Linked DNA regions of Homo sapiens: regions 1 and 2 are each linked to region 3. Evidence: promoter capture Hi-C in human tissues and cell types (Jung and others, 2019). All regions are on one chromosome and are shown on one strand. Each heading gives the region's core, a stretch centred on a gene start or on the middle of the fragment in contact. The rest is flanking DNA. Distances are from core to core; before and after follow the strand shown. Region 1 has its middle 110 kb from the start of RP1. Region 2 overlaps LOC124901947 (a long non-coding RNA gene). Region 3 holds the start of MRPL15 (mitochondrial ribosomal protein L15).

Evidence for each region. The method cuts DNA at HindIII sites, captures the fragments that hold promoters and counts their contacts. A contact is called where the count stands out against the background at its distance.
Region 1: a contact is called between a fragment that was not itself captured here and the fragment with the promoter of MRPL15 in region 3, in 1 of the 25 tissues and cell types used here (dorsolateral prefrontal cortex).
Region 2: a fragment that was not itself captured here is called in contact with the fragment with the promoter of MRPL15 in region 3 in 1 of the 25 tissues and cell types used here (lymphoblastoid cells).

What each region holds. Positions count from the first base shown.
Region 1 is chr8:54,725,870-54,729,725 of GRCh38, reverse strand. It overlaps a transcript of RP1 not described here. Among named protein-coding and RNA genes, the nearest start is that of RP1, 110 kb to the right of the region's middle. The HindIII fragment of the contact is 3,872 bases long and covers 1-3,596 here.
Region 2 is chr8:53,525,038-53,528,685 of GRCh38, reverse strand. LOC124901947 (a long non-coding RNA gene) reads right to left here. Exons shown (of 2, transcript XR_007060913.1): 2 at 2,023-3,054. Among named protein-coding and RNA genes, the nearest start is that of LINC02984, 2.9 kb to the right of the region's middle. The HindIII fragment of the contact is 3,762 bases long and covers 1-3,619 here.
Region 3 is chr8:54,133,282-54,136,748 of GRCh38, reverse strand. MRPL15 (mitochondrial ribosomal protein L15) reads right to left here and starts at 1,508. Exons shown (of 5, transcript NM_014175.4): 1 at 1,358-1,508; 2 at 84-238. The coding sequence starts at 1,465. The HindIII fragment of the contact is 21,249 bases long and covers 1-3,467 here.

The sequences.
Region 1 (3,856 bases), core at 411-2,910, 590 kb before region 3:
AAATTCTTTAATGATTAGTACCTTCTATTAACTGAGAAGGTTACAAAATGATATATTTAATATAATCTACAAGTGTATATACATACATATATGCACAAGCATAAATAGATTTTAAAGTGCTCTTTGGGGGAGTAGTAAGTTGATATAATTTTAAGATTTTCCTGTATGCTTGATGTGTTCTACTTTTTTTCGGAATGAAATTATTTTTAGTCAAACATGACTACCCAAGATTTTTCAGAATTTACTGACTGCTGTTTTTAAGGAAGACTTCAACTTAATAATAGATTTTTTTTCTGCCCAGGTTTATTTGTTTTTAAAGTATTGGCACCTAAACATATTTAGGAAAGAAAATGCCATGGCTGAGACTTTGGCACAGATTAGGATTTGCCTGGCAACACTGTAGAACATGCCACCACAAACAGATGATGGACTGGCAGGATGGCTGCACTGCACTGTTCAAGTGCCCATGCACAGAGACAAGCGACTGGAGCTGAGACCTGCATAACATTCATCTTCCTGGGTCTTGATTTTCTCATTTATAGAAATAGGTAGTTGCCGGAAAGATATCTAAGGGCAATTTCAGTTCAGAGCATCAAATCATAAGTCTTCTCTTTTTATATTCGGTTTGAATGTGTTTAAATGCAGTGTTTCCAAACTTAAAATTATGCAGAAGTAATGTATATTCTCACTTAAATAATTTTTAAAATATGGCATTTCTGAAGTATTTATGAATAATATGGTGTCTTATATTTGCTTTAAAATAATTAAATGAGGACATTGTAGGGCATAGCAGGAAGGACCATAACTAAGACAGAACTACGTCTATGTTGATCATTGTTGAAGCTGAGTGATGGGTACATGGGGGTTCATTTGTCCATTATCTCTACCTTTGTGTGTGTTTAAAATTTTCCATAATAAAAAGATTATTCTAAAAAAATAAGATTCCTTCCTCAACCCCACCACCCTAACAAAATTAATATCATAATGCAGTTTAGACCTAAATGACAGCCTTGCAAATTTAATGACACTATATCTCTACTTAACTACTACAAAATAACTATTTATCATATATGTGCTATTTTAAGTTCTAAATCCTCTTGCCCTTTTGATGTAGATGAGAAAAGTTCCATCTTTCTTCTTAATAAATAAGCATTTTGAATGAAGACAGAACAGTTTTATTTTGTCTATAATTTCTCATTCCCAAAACTATACATCTTGCCCTATCCCAAAAGTGGGTGGACAAACATAGTCTCATTCTTAAGGAACTGATATTTGGTTTTAGATATCTTTAAAAGTAGAAAATAAGTTTTCTAAAGTGTTTTTCAACTAACATATTTTAATATGAATGGCTAATGCAACCCAAATCTGTCTTGACAGCTAAGGTGCAAAACCAAGAGGAAGGTATTTCTTGCAAGAAGCAACTTTTTAACTATTGCAGTCCTTTGATAGAGGTAGAAAAAAGACAACTAAAGGGAATCATGATCTAATTACTCAGTAACAGATGAGAGAGAGACTTCTAGGGAAATATTCATACATAAAGACATTTTTTCCTCACTTAAAATCATGGGTGCTTATAAAACCACTCCCACTGCAATCAGAGAAGGCAAAATTTAACCATATCATGGGCATTTTATAAGTGGCATTTGCCTTAGAGGAGCTTCATCATCTGGACTTCCCAGATTTCATATCCAGGGCCAAAATCTGTGACAGGTCAAAGTTTTAAAAAGTTCATGAAGAAACTGAGCTCAGTCTCCATTTTCTCAGTCTTTGGCCCACTCTCCATTTCTGCTGTATTGCCATTAACCACAATGAAGAACTTATAAGTCTTTTTACAATTAATTATTGACTTAAATTTTATTTTGTGTCTCGTATGCTCTGGATATTTCCTTCATCTCAATTATCAGGTTTTAGCCTTCCATTTTTGTGTGATTGTTTAATGTTTATCTGAACAGCTCACCTATCAAATTCAAGAGGGTAGAGACCAAGTCTGTTTTACCTATAACATCTGACATTTAATGGGCACACAATTCATATTTAATGTTGAATTAAATGAAATAATTATTTGAAAAGGTCTATGTTTATCATGAAGCCTAATTTTGTCATTTTTACAAATTACTTGGCCAGCCTCAGTAAAAAAAATCCTTAAAAATTTCATAATGGTAACATTTAAAAAATATTTTTGCCAGAACAAATTTTCATAAGACATATAGAAGGTTTTCTCATAAGCATTTTGCCACTCATTAAAAAAGTATCTATCCCCCAGGGATTTCGGCTAGCATGCTATTTTCAACCAATTCAAATTTTACTTGAGGTGGCCATCCCTGATTTAGATACCATTACTTCCTGACACAAGACTGAATTCTGCTGTGAGAAATTTTAACTAAGCACATATTTCTCATTCAGTGTGATTCTTCACACTGCTCCATGGATTCAAGACATGACATGGAAATAAAAAACTGAGACTAGTCCTTTGCAGCAAAAATCAAAAGGCTAATTTCTCTTCCCTATGTTCATGAGCTAATAGCTTAGGATGGTCAACAAGAGACGTCTATTATATTACTATCTAAAAGAAAAGCTAGCATACCCAATAACTAATTTTTAAAAATCACTTTTTTAAAGGTAACATTATAATTTATCTGTCTCCCAAGACGGGTTTTAAAAAAATGGTCCCCCAGAGATGGTCCCCTATTTCATCTTATCCAAAGATGACTAGATTCTGATACACGGAATTTGTCAGATATCATATATTATACTTTCCCGTCAGATAAAAGTTAATACATTTAAGAGCAACAAAAATTATCAAATGGACCAATATAGAAACTAGGAATTTAAGCCTCTGGGACCGAGAGCACTTTTTTTTAAGCTTCAGTTTCTATACCAGAGAAATAGAAATTATTTTTTTCATTGCTTAGACTTTAGTGAGAATTTACTGTTTTTCATAAAATATATTCATAAAATATTTTGTAGGTGATAGTCCAATTGATGTTATAATTTAATACTATCTTCTTTTCAACTCATTGTTCTGGGTGAACATTAAATTTAAGACAAAGAAACACATTTAAAAATATATGTATTCTTTATAATATAAAACTTAAGGCATAAAAAAGCAAGATAACAGCTTACAAGCAGTCCATGTGGTATAACATAATATATGCTGTAAAAATAATTTAATAGTCTTCCTGCAATGGCCACAGGAAGAAATAATGCAGCAAACAAACCAAAAGTATGAAAGCAAAAGCTGTGGCTTACTTGCAGTTGAAGAAGGTAAGGGACTCCTAGCCTCAGATTCTGGGGGTATTTTTTTCTGTTTTTTTGACTCATGGATCTTTTCTTCTTCTTGGCTGGGTGTTGCAGACATTCCCATTGGGTTTTCTCTGCCAACTGAAATTAAGATTTTAAAAGATGCCATCCTTTCAAAATCACTTGTTTCTTCTCAGAATACTCATCATATGTTCAGCTATGCAAGTTTAATTTTTGCTATTGTTTCCATTTCAATGCCTAGTCAAATCTCTTTACTCAGAATTACATAGTTAACAGAAAATGACTTCTTATTCTTACCAGCAGGCTGTGCATGGGTGGCATCCCTATAAAACCTACTCATTGCTTTGCAAATCCGAACGATAGTTAACATCACAATATGAATCAAACAACTTATTCAAAATGTTTTTCTTATAGATTCTAAATGGGAACTTCTTTAACAATCTTGTTCTTTGCCTTCCTCAAAAGGGGAAACTAAAACGTCATTCAAACAGGATTTCATGTGACCTTACTGAAATACATGAATCAACAAAATATACACATATCTATAAGTAATGGAAAACATTAGCTACTTTTCTACCTTTTACTTAGAAGCAAG
Region 2 (3,648 bases), core at 489-2,988, 610 kb after region 3:
ACACCATGCCTGGATAATTGCAGCTCTTTATCCTATCAGTACTCAGAGCTCTAAGTAGCTGTATAACAGGGACTCTCATGAATTGGGCATCAGCCACAGAACACTATAGAGCAGGTTATTTTCTGGGTGGCTTGGGGCCGATGAAATAAATCCTGGGATAAATTATGACATGGAGATTTGAATGCTTGAACTATAGATTTTGTCCAGAAAAGGCTTCTTGCTAGCTACTGGGATTTTAAAAAATCAGTGTTTTCTGTTATGTGATTATTATCTTAGAAATATACAGTTGCTTCTTCTTATTAGTGGCAGTTGTATTCTATAATGTCGCTGTGAACTCTGAATTAGTAAATTCAGAAGCATTGCTCCCAGGAAAAATACAGGGTTAGGTCACTGCAAGCCACTAGTCAAAACATTTTTGTCCACTGATCAATACATGAGCTTGTTTTTTGTGTGTTTCTATTTAAAGACACCTTGCTTAATACATATCATTGATTCATTAACATTGAACTCATGGACAACAGCACTGTAACTCGTGTCTGAAGGAAGCTTATCTAATGCATGTATTTTTCCCCTTGAATAACATCACAGCCTTCTTGCACTTAGGAACCATAGACAGCACCATAGTTAGGGTGTTATTTTAAACAGCAGAATCATCAACAAAAAGCCCCCCAAAATGCAAAAAACATGGCACCAAATGGAATGTGGGGAGGATACTTGTTTGCAGTGTGAGAGCTGAAACAAGAAGGCAGAGGGTTTGACTTCAGCTGGGAGTGTGCATTGGGTTTCTCAAATTTTTTGCCTCTCTATCCATGTCTGCAAGGACTGTACAAACACTGTGAATATTGACTTTGGAGTGACAAATACATTTTAGTAAGCAGATGAATTCACAAACCTTGAATCAGCGAATAGCAAAGATGGAGTGTATTTTCTAATTTCTTAAGATGTGAGTCTGAGTTTGGTAAATGTTAGTAAAGATAGGTAGTCCAAAGTCACCCAAATCGCATTAGAGCTCTGTTGCTGCTATCACAAGACCTTGATTGCGGTTTAGATTTTTTAAAAGTTTTGAAGCATTTTCAGCTCATGGTGAATATATGTATTGATTCATTATTGAACAAATATTTGTAAGAATACATGTTTTCTACTATTCTGGAGGCTTTATAAAAACATAAAACTTTTATAATAACATATAGTCTCTTTGTGATTTACAGATTTTTAACTACTTTCATGAGCACATCTCCTTTAATTCCCCTCACCCCTTGAAAGGTGCTTGGGAACCCAGCATTAGTGGAAAGTCTGAGAATGGGGACAGCTCTCTAGATTCTGGGGGTAAAATGTAAGGGGGGTCCTGGCCTAGAGAAACTTGTCTTGCTAGGAGCTAGAGTATATTATGAGGCCAGCACCAGAAGCCAAGTTTTATTTTAATGACCACATCACGTGGGCCCCTTAACCAGTCACCAGTGGTGTGATCCTAGAGCCTTCATGTGGGCCAGTCGGCCCAGGCACCAACAGCCCCCTAGAGAGGTGGGCAGGTGCCTGCAGGAGACTGTGAAGTACTCTGAAGGCAAATGATAAACTAAGCAAGGTGTGGTGAGGGAGACCAGCTGTTGGTCAATAAATGACACCTTGCCCAGTGTTAAGAGCACAGTTTCTGGAGCCAGATATCCTGAGTTCCAAATCAGCTCTGTTTCTTAATAGCTGTGTGACTTTCAGGGATGATATGTTTAGCCTCTCTGTGCATCAATTCATTTATCTGTGAAAGTGGGACAATAATATACTAACATCATAAGGCCATTGTAATAATGAAATAAATTACAACTATGAAGTACTATATAAGCTCAGATTGTGACAGGTACACCCCAGAAATATTGTGGGTTCCATTCCAGACCACTGCAGTAAAGCAAATATTGCAATAAAATGAGTCACATACATTTTTTCCCTAATTCATATAAAAGTTATGCTTACACTGCACTGTAATCTATTGAGTGTGCAGTTGTGTTATGTGTAAAAAATAATGTACATATCTTAATTCAAAATATTTTATTGCTAAAAATGCTAACAATGATCTGAGCCTTCAGCAAACCATCATCTTTTTGCTGGTGAAGGGTCTTGCTTTGATGTTGATGGCTGCTGAATGATCAGGGTGGTGGTTGCTGAAGATTGTGGTGGCTGTGGCAGTTTGTTAAGACAACAATGGAGTTTGCCAGAGCAATTGACTCTTCCTTTTATGAAAGAAAGGAAGCAATTGACTCTTCCTTTTATTTCTCTGTAGCATGCAATGCTGTTTTATAGCATTTTACCTGCAATAGAACTTCTTTCAAAATTGGAGCCAACACTCTCAAACTCTGCTGCTGCTTTATGAACTAAGTTTATGCAGTACTCTAAATCCTTTATTGTTATTACAACAATGTAAATAGCACCTTCACCAAGAGTAGATTCTATCTTAAGAAACCACTTTCTTTGCTCCTCCTTCATAAGAAGCAGTTCCTCATCTGTTCAAGTTTTATCATGAGATTGCAGAAATTCAGTCCCACCTTGATTGTAGAAATTCAGTCCCACCTTCAGGCTCCACTTCTAGTTCTCTTGCTATTTCTATCGCATCTGCTGTTGCTTCCTCCACTGAAACCTTGAACCCGTCAAAATCACCTATGAAGGTTAAAATTAACTTCTTCCAAACTACAGTTAATGTTGATATTTTGATGTCATGAATCATGAATGTTCTAGAGTGGCATCTAGAAGAATGAATACTTTCCAGAATGTTTTCAATTTCCTTTTCTAGTCCATCAGAGGAATCACCATCTATGGCAGTTATAGTGTTAGGGAATGTATTTCTTAAATTACAAGACTTGAAAGTTGGAATTAGTCCTTGAACCATGGGCTTCAGAAGCGATGTTGTGTTTGCAGGTCTGAAAATATCCTTGTACCTCTCTGTCAGGACTCTTGAGTGACCAAGTGCATTGTCAATGAGCAGTAATATTTTGAAGGGACTCTTGTTTTTTTTTTTTAAGTCATAGTGAGGAAGGAGACCACCAGTTCTCCTGCTGCTCTCCGCCTTGCCTAGTTTATAAAACAAGAGAAAAAGGAGAAAGCAAAAAGTTAAAAAGAAAAAAAGTAAGATAAATAGCCAGATGACCTTGGGGCCACCACCCTGCCCTGATGGTTAAATAATAATAATAATAATAAAAATAATAATAATATCAACCCCTGACCTCAACTATTTGTGTTATCTGTAAATTCCAGACATTGTATGAGGAAGCATTGTAAAACTTTCTGTTCTGTTAGCTGATGCATGTAGCCCCCAGTCACATTCCCCATGCTTGTGACCCTTTCACGTAGACCCCTTAAAGTTGTGAGCCCTTAAAAAGGCCAAGAATTTTTTTTTGGGGAGCTCAGCTCTTAAGATGCAAGTCTGCTGAAGCTCCCGGCCGAATAAAGCCGCTTCCTTCTTTAACCCGGTGTCTGAGGAGTTTTGTCTGTAGCACGTCCTGCTACATTTCTTGGTTCCCTGACCAGGAAGCAAGGTGAGGCAGCCCCTTAGGCAGCTTTTGCCTGCCCTGTGGAGCATCCCTTTGGGTGACCCTAGCTGGCTTGAGTGACACAGATCCTGAGAACACTCCCAGGTAGGCATTTGCCCTGGTGGAATGTCTCATC
Region 3 (3,467 bases), core at 259-2,758:
CACCAAAATTTCTACCAAACTATTTTTAGGTGCTTTTTAATGGAAATTGGGGACCTGTACTTTAAAAAGCAAAGCAACCTTACCTATGTCCTTCGTTAAACCCGTATTTTGGGATTCGGATGTAAAATGGAGTCTGGCCTCCCTCAAAGCCCAAGCGGGGCCGGGTTCCTCTTTGCCTTTCTCCTTTATGGCCTCTGCCACATTTTCTACCTCTTCTCCGACCTCTTGGTCTTCTCTCCTGCAAGGAAAAAAAAGAATTTTATGAATTTCAGATGCATTTCTAAAAACTGCATTTCAGCTCTTCACTTTTTGTTATGCTGTTCATTCATCCAGCCCACCAGTGCTAGCTAACACTATTGTGTCAAGCATGTCCTAGTTGCTCAAAGCTCCACACACTCTGTTAGCATCTTTGCCTCTAAAGACATAGCTAATTCTTGTAACCAAAGTCCAAGTGTGTTTCAAAAGCAAAAAGTAAAGGTTAGGATGGGGATAAGGTTTTTATAATAGGTTGAAACCGAAAAAAATCCTAGAATTAAATATTCACAACATTTTAAATGATAGGCAAGAATTTATTCTGAAATTAATTGTAAATATGCAAATGTTATTCATAAACCTGTAATTTTATTTGAAAACTGATCTGTTGAAGAAAATCTTTTCCTTAATTTCCTGTCATTTCACGAAAGCAATGAACTGACTGTTAAAATGACAGTACATTGTCAACTAACAGCTTTTCTAGCTCTATTTAGTCAACTGCAGAAGGGACAGCTGCAATTCAGATCTTTCCAATGAACATAAAGATACACCGGGAAAACATTTCATTTTAAATCCAATTTTGAATGACACAAAGACTTTGTAGTTTCAGCGAGTCGGCTTCTCCGCCTGGTATCTTTACACTTGTAAACATAACCTTATTAAGAACTGGGTGCGGCCGGGGGCGGTGGCTCACGCCTGTAATCCCAGCACTTTGGGAGGCCGAGGCAGGCGGATCGCGAGCTCAGGAGTTCAAAACCAGCCTGGCCAACACGGTGAAACCACGTCTCTACTAAAAATACAAAAATTAGCCGGGCGTGATGGCGGGCGCCTGTAATCCCAGCTAATCGGGAGGCTGAGGCAGGAGAATTGCTTCTGGGCGACAGAGCAAGCCTCCGTCTCGGAAAAAAAAAAAAAAAAAAAAAAAAGAACTGGGTGCACGTGGAAAGATTCCCCTCTGGGCAGTAAGGGAGAACAGGCATGAGGCAATCCTATTTTCATCCCAACACTCTCCTAGAAAGGGCAGTTCTCCTAATGACAGGGAGAGAAGGGCCGCTTTCATCGCCCGGGTCCCCAGCGCTTCCCCGCACCGCCACCACCCATTTACCGGTTTCTTGGAGCCGGGATTCGGCTTTAAGTTGGCCAGGCTCACACGCGGCAGGCCCCGGAGTAGGTCCAGGGCCCGGGCCCCACCGCCCTGCAAGGGACCGGCCATAACCCGCAGATCCAAGAACTTTCAAGGGCGCCCTGAGCTGCTCGGAGGCCACGTGGTCTCGGGGGCTGCTTTGTGGCCGTGGCCCCGCCCCTGTCGCGCTGCAGCCGCGCGCGCAAGCCCGGGAGTCGGGCAGAGGCGTGGGAGTCTGCAACCTTGTCTCGGTTGTCCTTTTAGTTGTTTGGGGATGTGATCTTATTTTCCGAGATCCTGCTTTGTCCTCGGGGTCCCTTTTAATATTCTGAACGTAAAACCTTCTCTTTCGCCAAACGAGAGCATGCACTAAAAACACTGCGTTAAATAAAGGATCTTTTTTGAGTCAGTGTTGGGCCTTGCCTGTTTGTCTAGGCCGTGTCTTCTCTGAGGTCAATGCAGAACCCAGAGTAAAGCAAAGTGAGCTGTCAATTATTAGCTTTTGAGCTTGCGTAATTATACACCGTGAGGTACGAAAATAAAACTGAGTGCACCTATCAAAATGCCTGGCTAATAACCAATCTTTGAATAAGACTCAAAGTGTGAACTCTCATCCGTGTGCATCTGTATTGTTTTGAGTGAATCGCAGTTAGTAACCACCTATTGTTAATGACTGGCGCCATACTGAATGCCTGGTGTATGCCAGACGCTGTATTAAATAAGCCTTACTCGATTTACAGCCATTCTAGAGGTAAATGGTGTTACTACATTTTACAGTTACAACAGGGAAGGCTTAGCAAGGTCCGATAGCTTGACCAACTTCTTGCAACAAGCGGCAGAGCCAGGATTCAAACGTACACTGCTTCCTACTATAAAAGTAGTATTTTTAGAATGTAAAATTGAGTATCTGCATCACAAAATACGAACATTATTACTCGAAAAATACCAGCTCTTCTTTTTTCTCTCAAGTGACTTAAATATAGAAAAGACTGTTCCTTTCTTTTTCTTTCTTTTAGTAGTGGTTTGACATTTCACTTGCTGGGGAGTTTTTTCTGCTAGCTCTAACTAGTAATCACAAATAATGAAGGTGAGACAATTTTTGGAGGGCGTCTGTCTCTAGGTATAACTGCGTCTTTTTAAAGTTCCTTTAAATCAAGTGTAAAATAACTACATAAAGAAAAAGTTGTATTCATTCCTTCAAGTACTATTTATAAGTAAGACACTGAACTTGTTGGAAATACACATGGATGAACTCAAATAGGATTTCATTCCCAAGTTGTTTGAAATCTAGTAGGGAACAGTTTCCAAAAGTGAATTATTATTATTATTATTTTGAGACAGAGTCTCGCTCTGTTGCTTAGGCTAGAGTGCAATGGTTCAATCTCAGCTCACTGCAACCTCTGCCTCTCTGGTTCAAGCAATTCTTCCGCCTCCGCCTCCTGAGTAGCTGGGATTACAGGCGTTCACCAGCACGCCCCGCTAATTTTTTTTTGTATGTTTAGTAGAGACGGGTTTTCGCCATGTTGGCCAGGCTGGTCTCCAACTCCTGGCCTCAGGTGATCCCCCTGCCTCGGCCTCCCAAAGTGCTGGGATTACAGGCGTGAGCCACGGCGCCTGGCCCGTGAATGTTTTTTAAAAGTTAAAGATAAAAGTAGGCCTCTTGTAGACTAATTAGCAAAAACAAAATATGTGAGTTCGATAAAATGATATGATGGTAAAGTCTAGACTCTATTTAGAAGCACAGAAGAAATAGAATGGGGTGTGGGGGGCAATAGAACCTATTTTCTGCCTTTAATGATTTTTGGTTTGTTTGTTTGAAATGGAATCTCACTCTGTCGCCCAGGCTGGAGTGCAGTAGCGCCATCTCGGCTCACTGCAGGCTCCTCACCCAGGTTCAAGCGATTCTCCTGCCTCAGCCTCCCCAGTAGCTGAGATTACAGGCATGCACCACAACGTACAGCTTTTTTAGTTTGTTTGTTTGGTTGGTTTTTTAGTAGAGACTGGGTTTCACCACGTTGGCCAGGCTTGTCTGAAACTCCTAACCTCAAATGATCCACCTGCCTTGGCCTCCCAAAGTGCTGGGATTACAGGT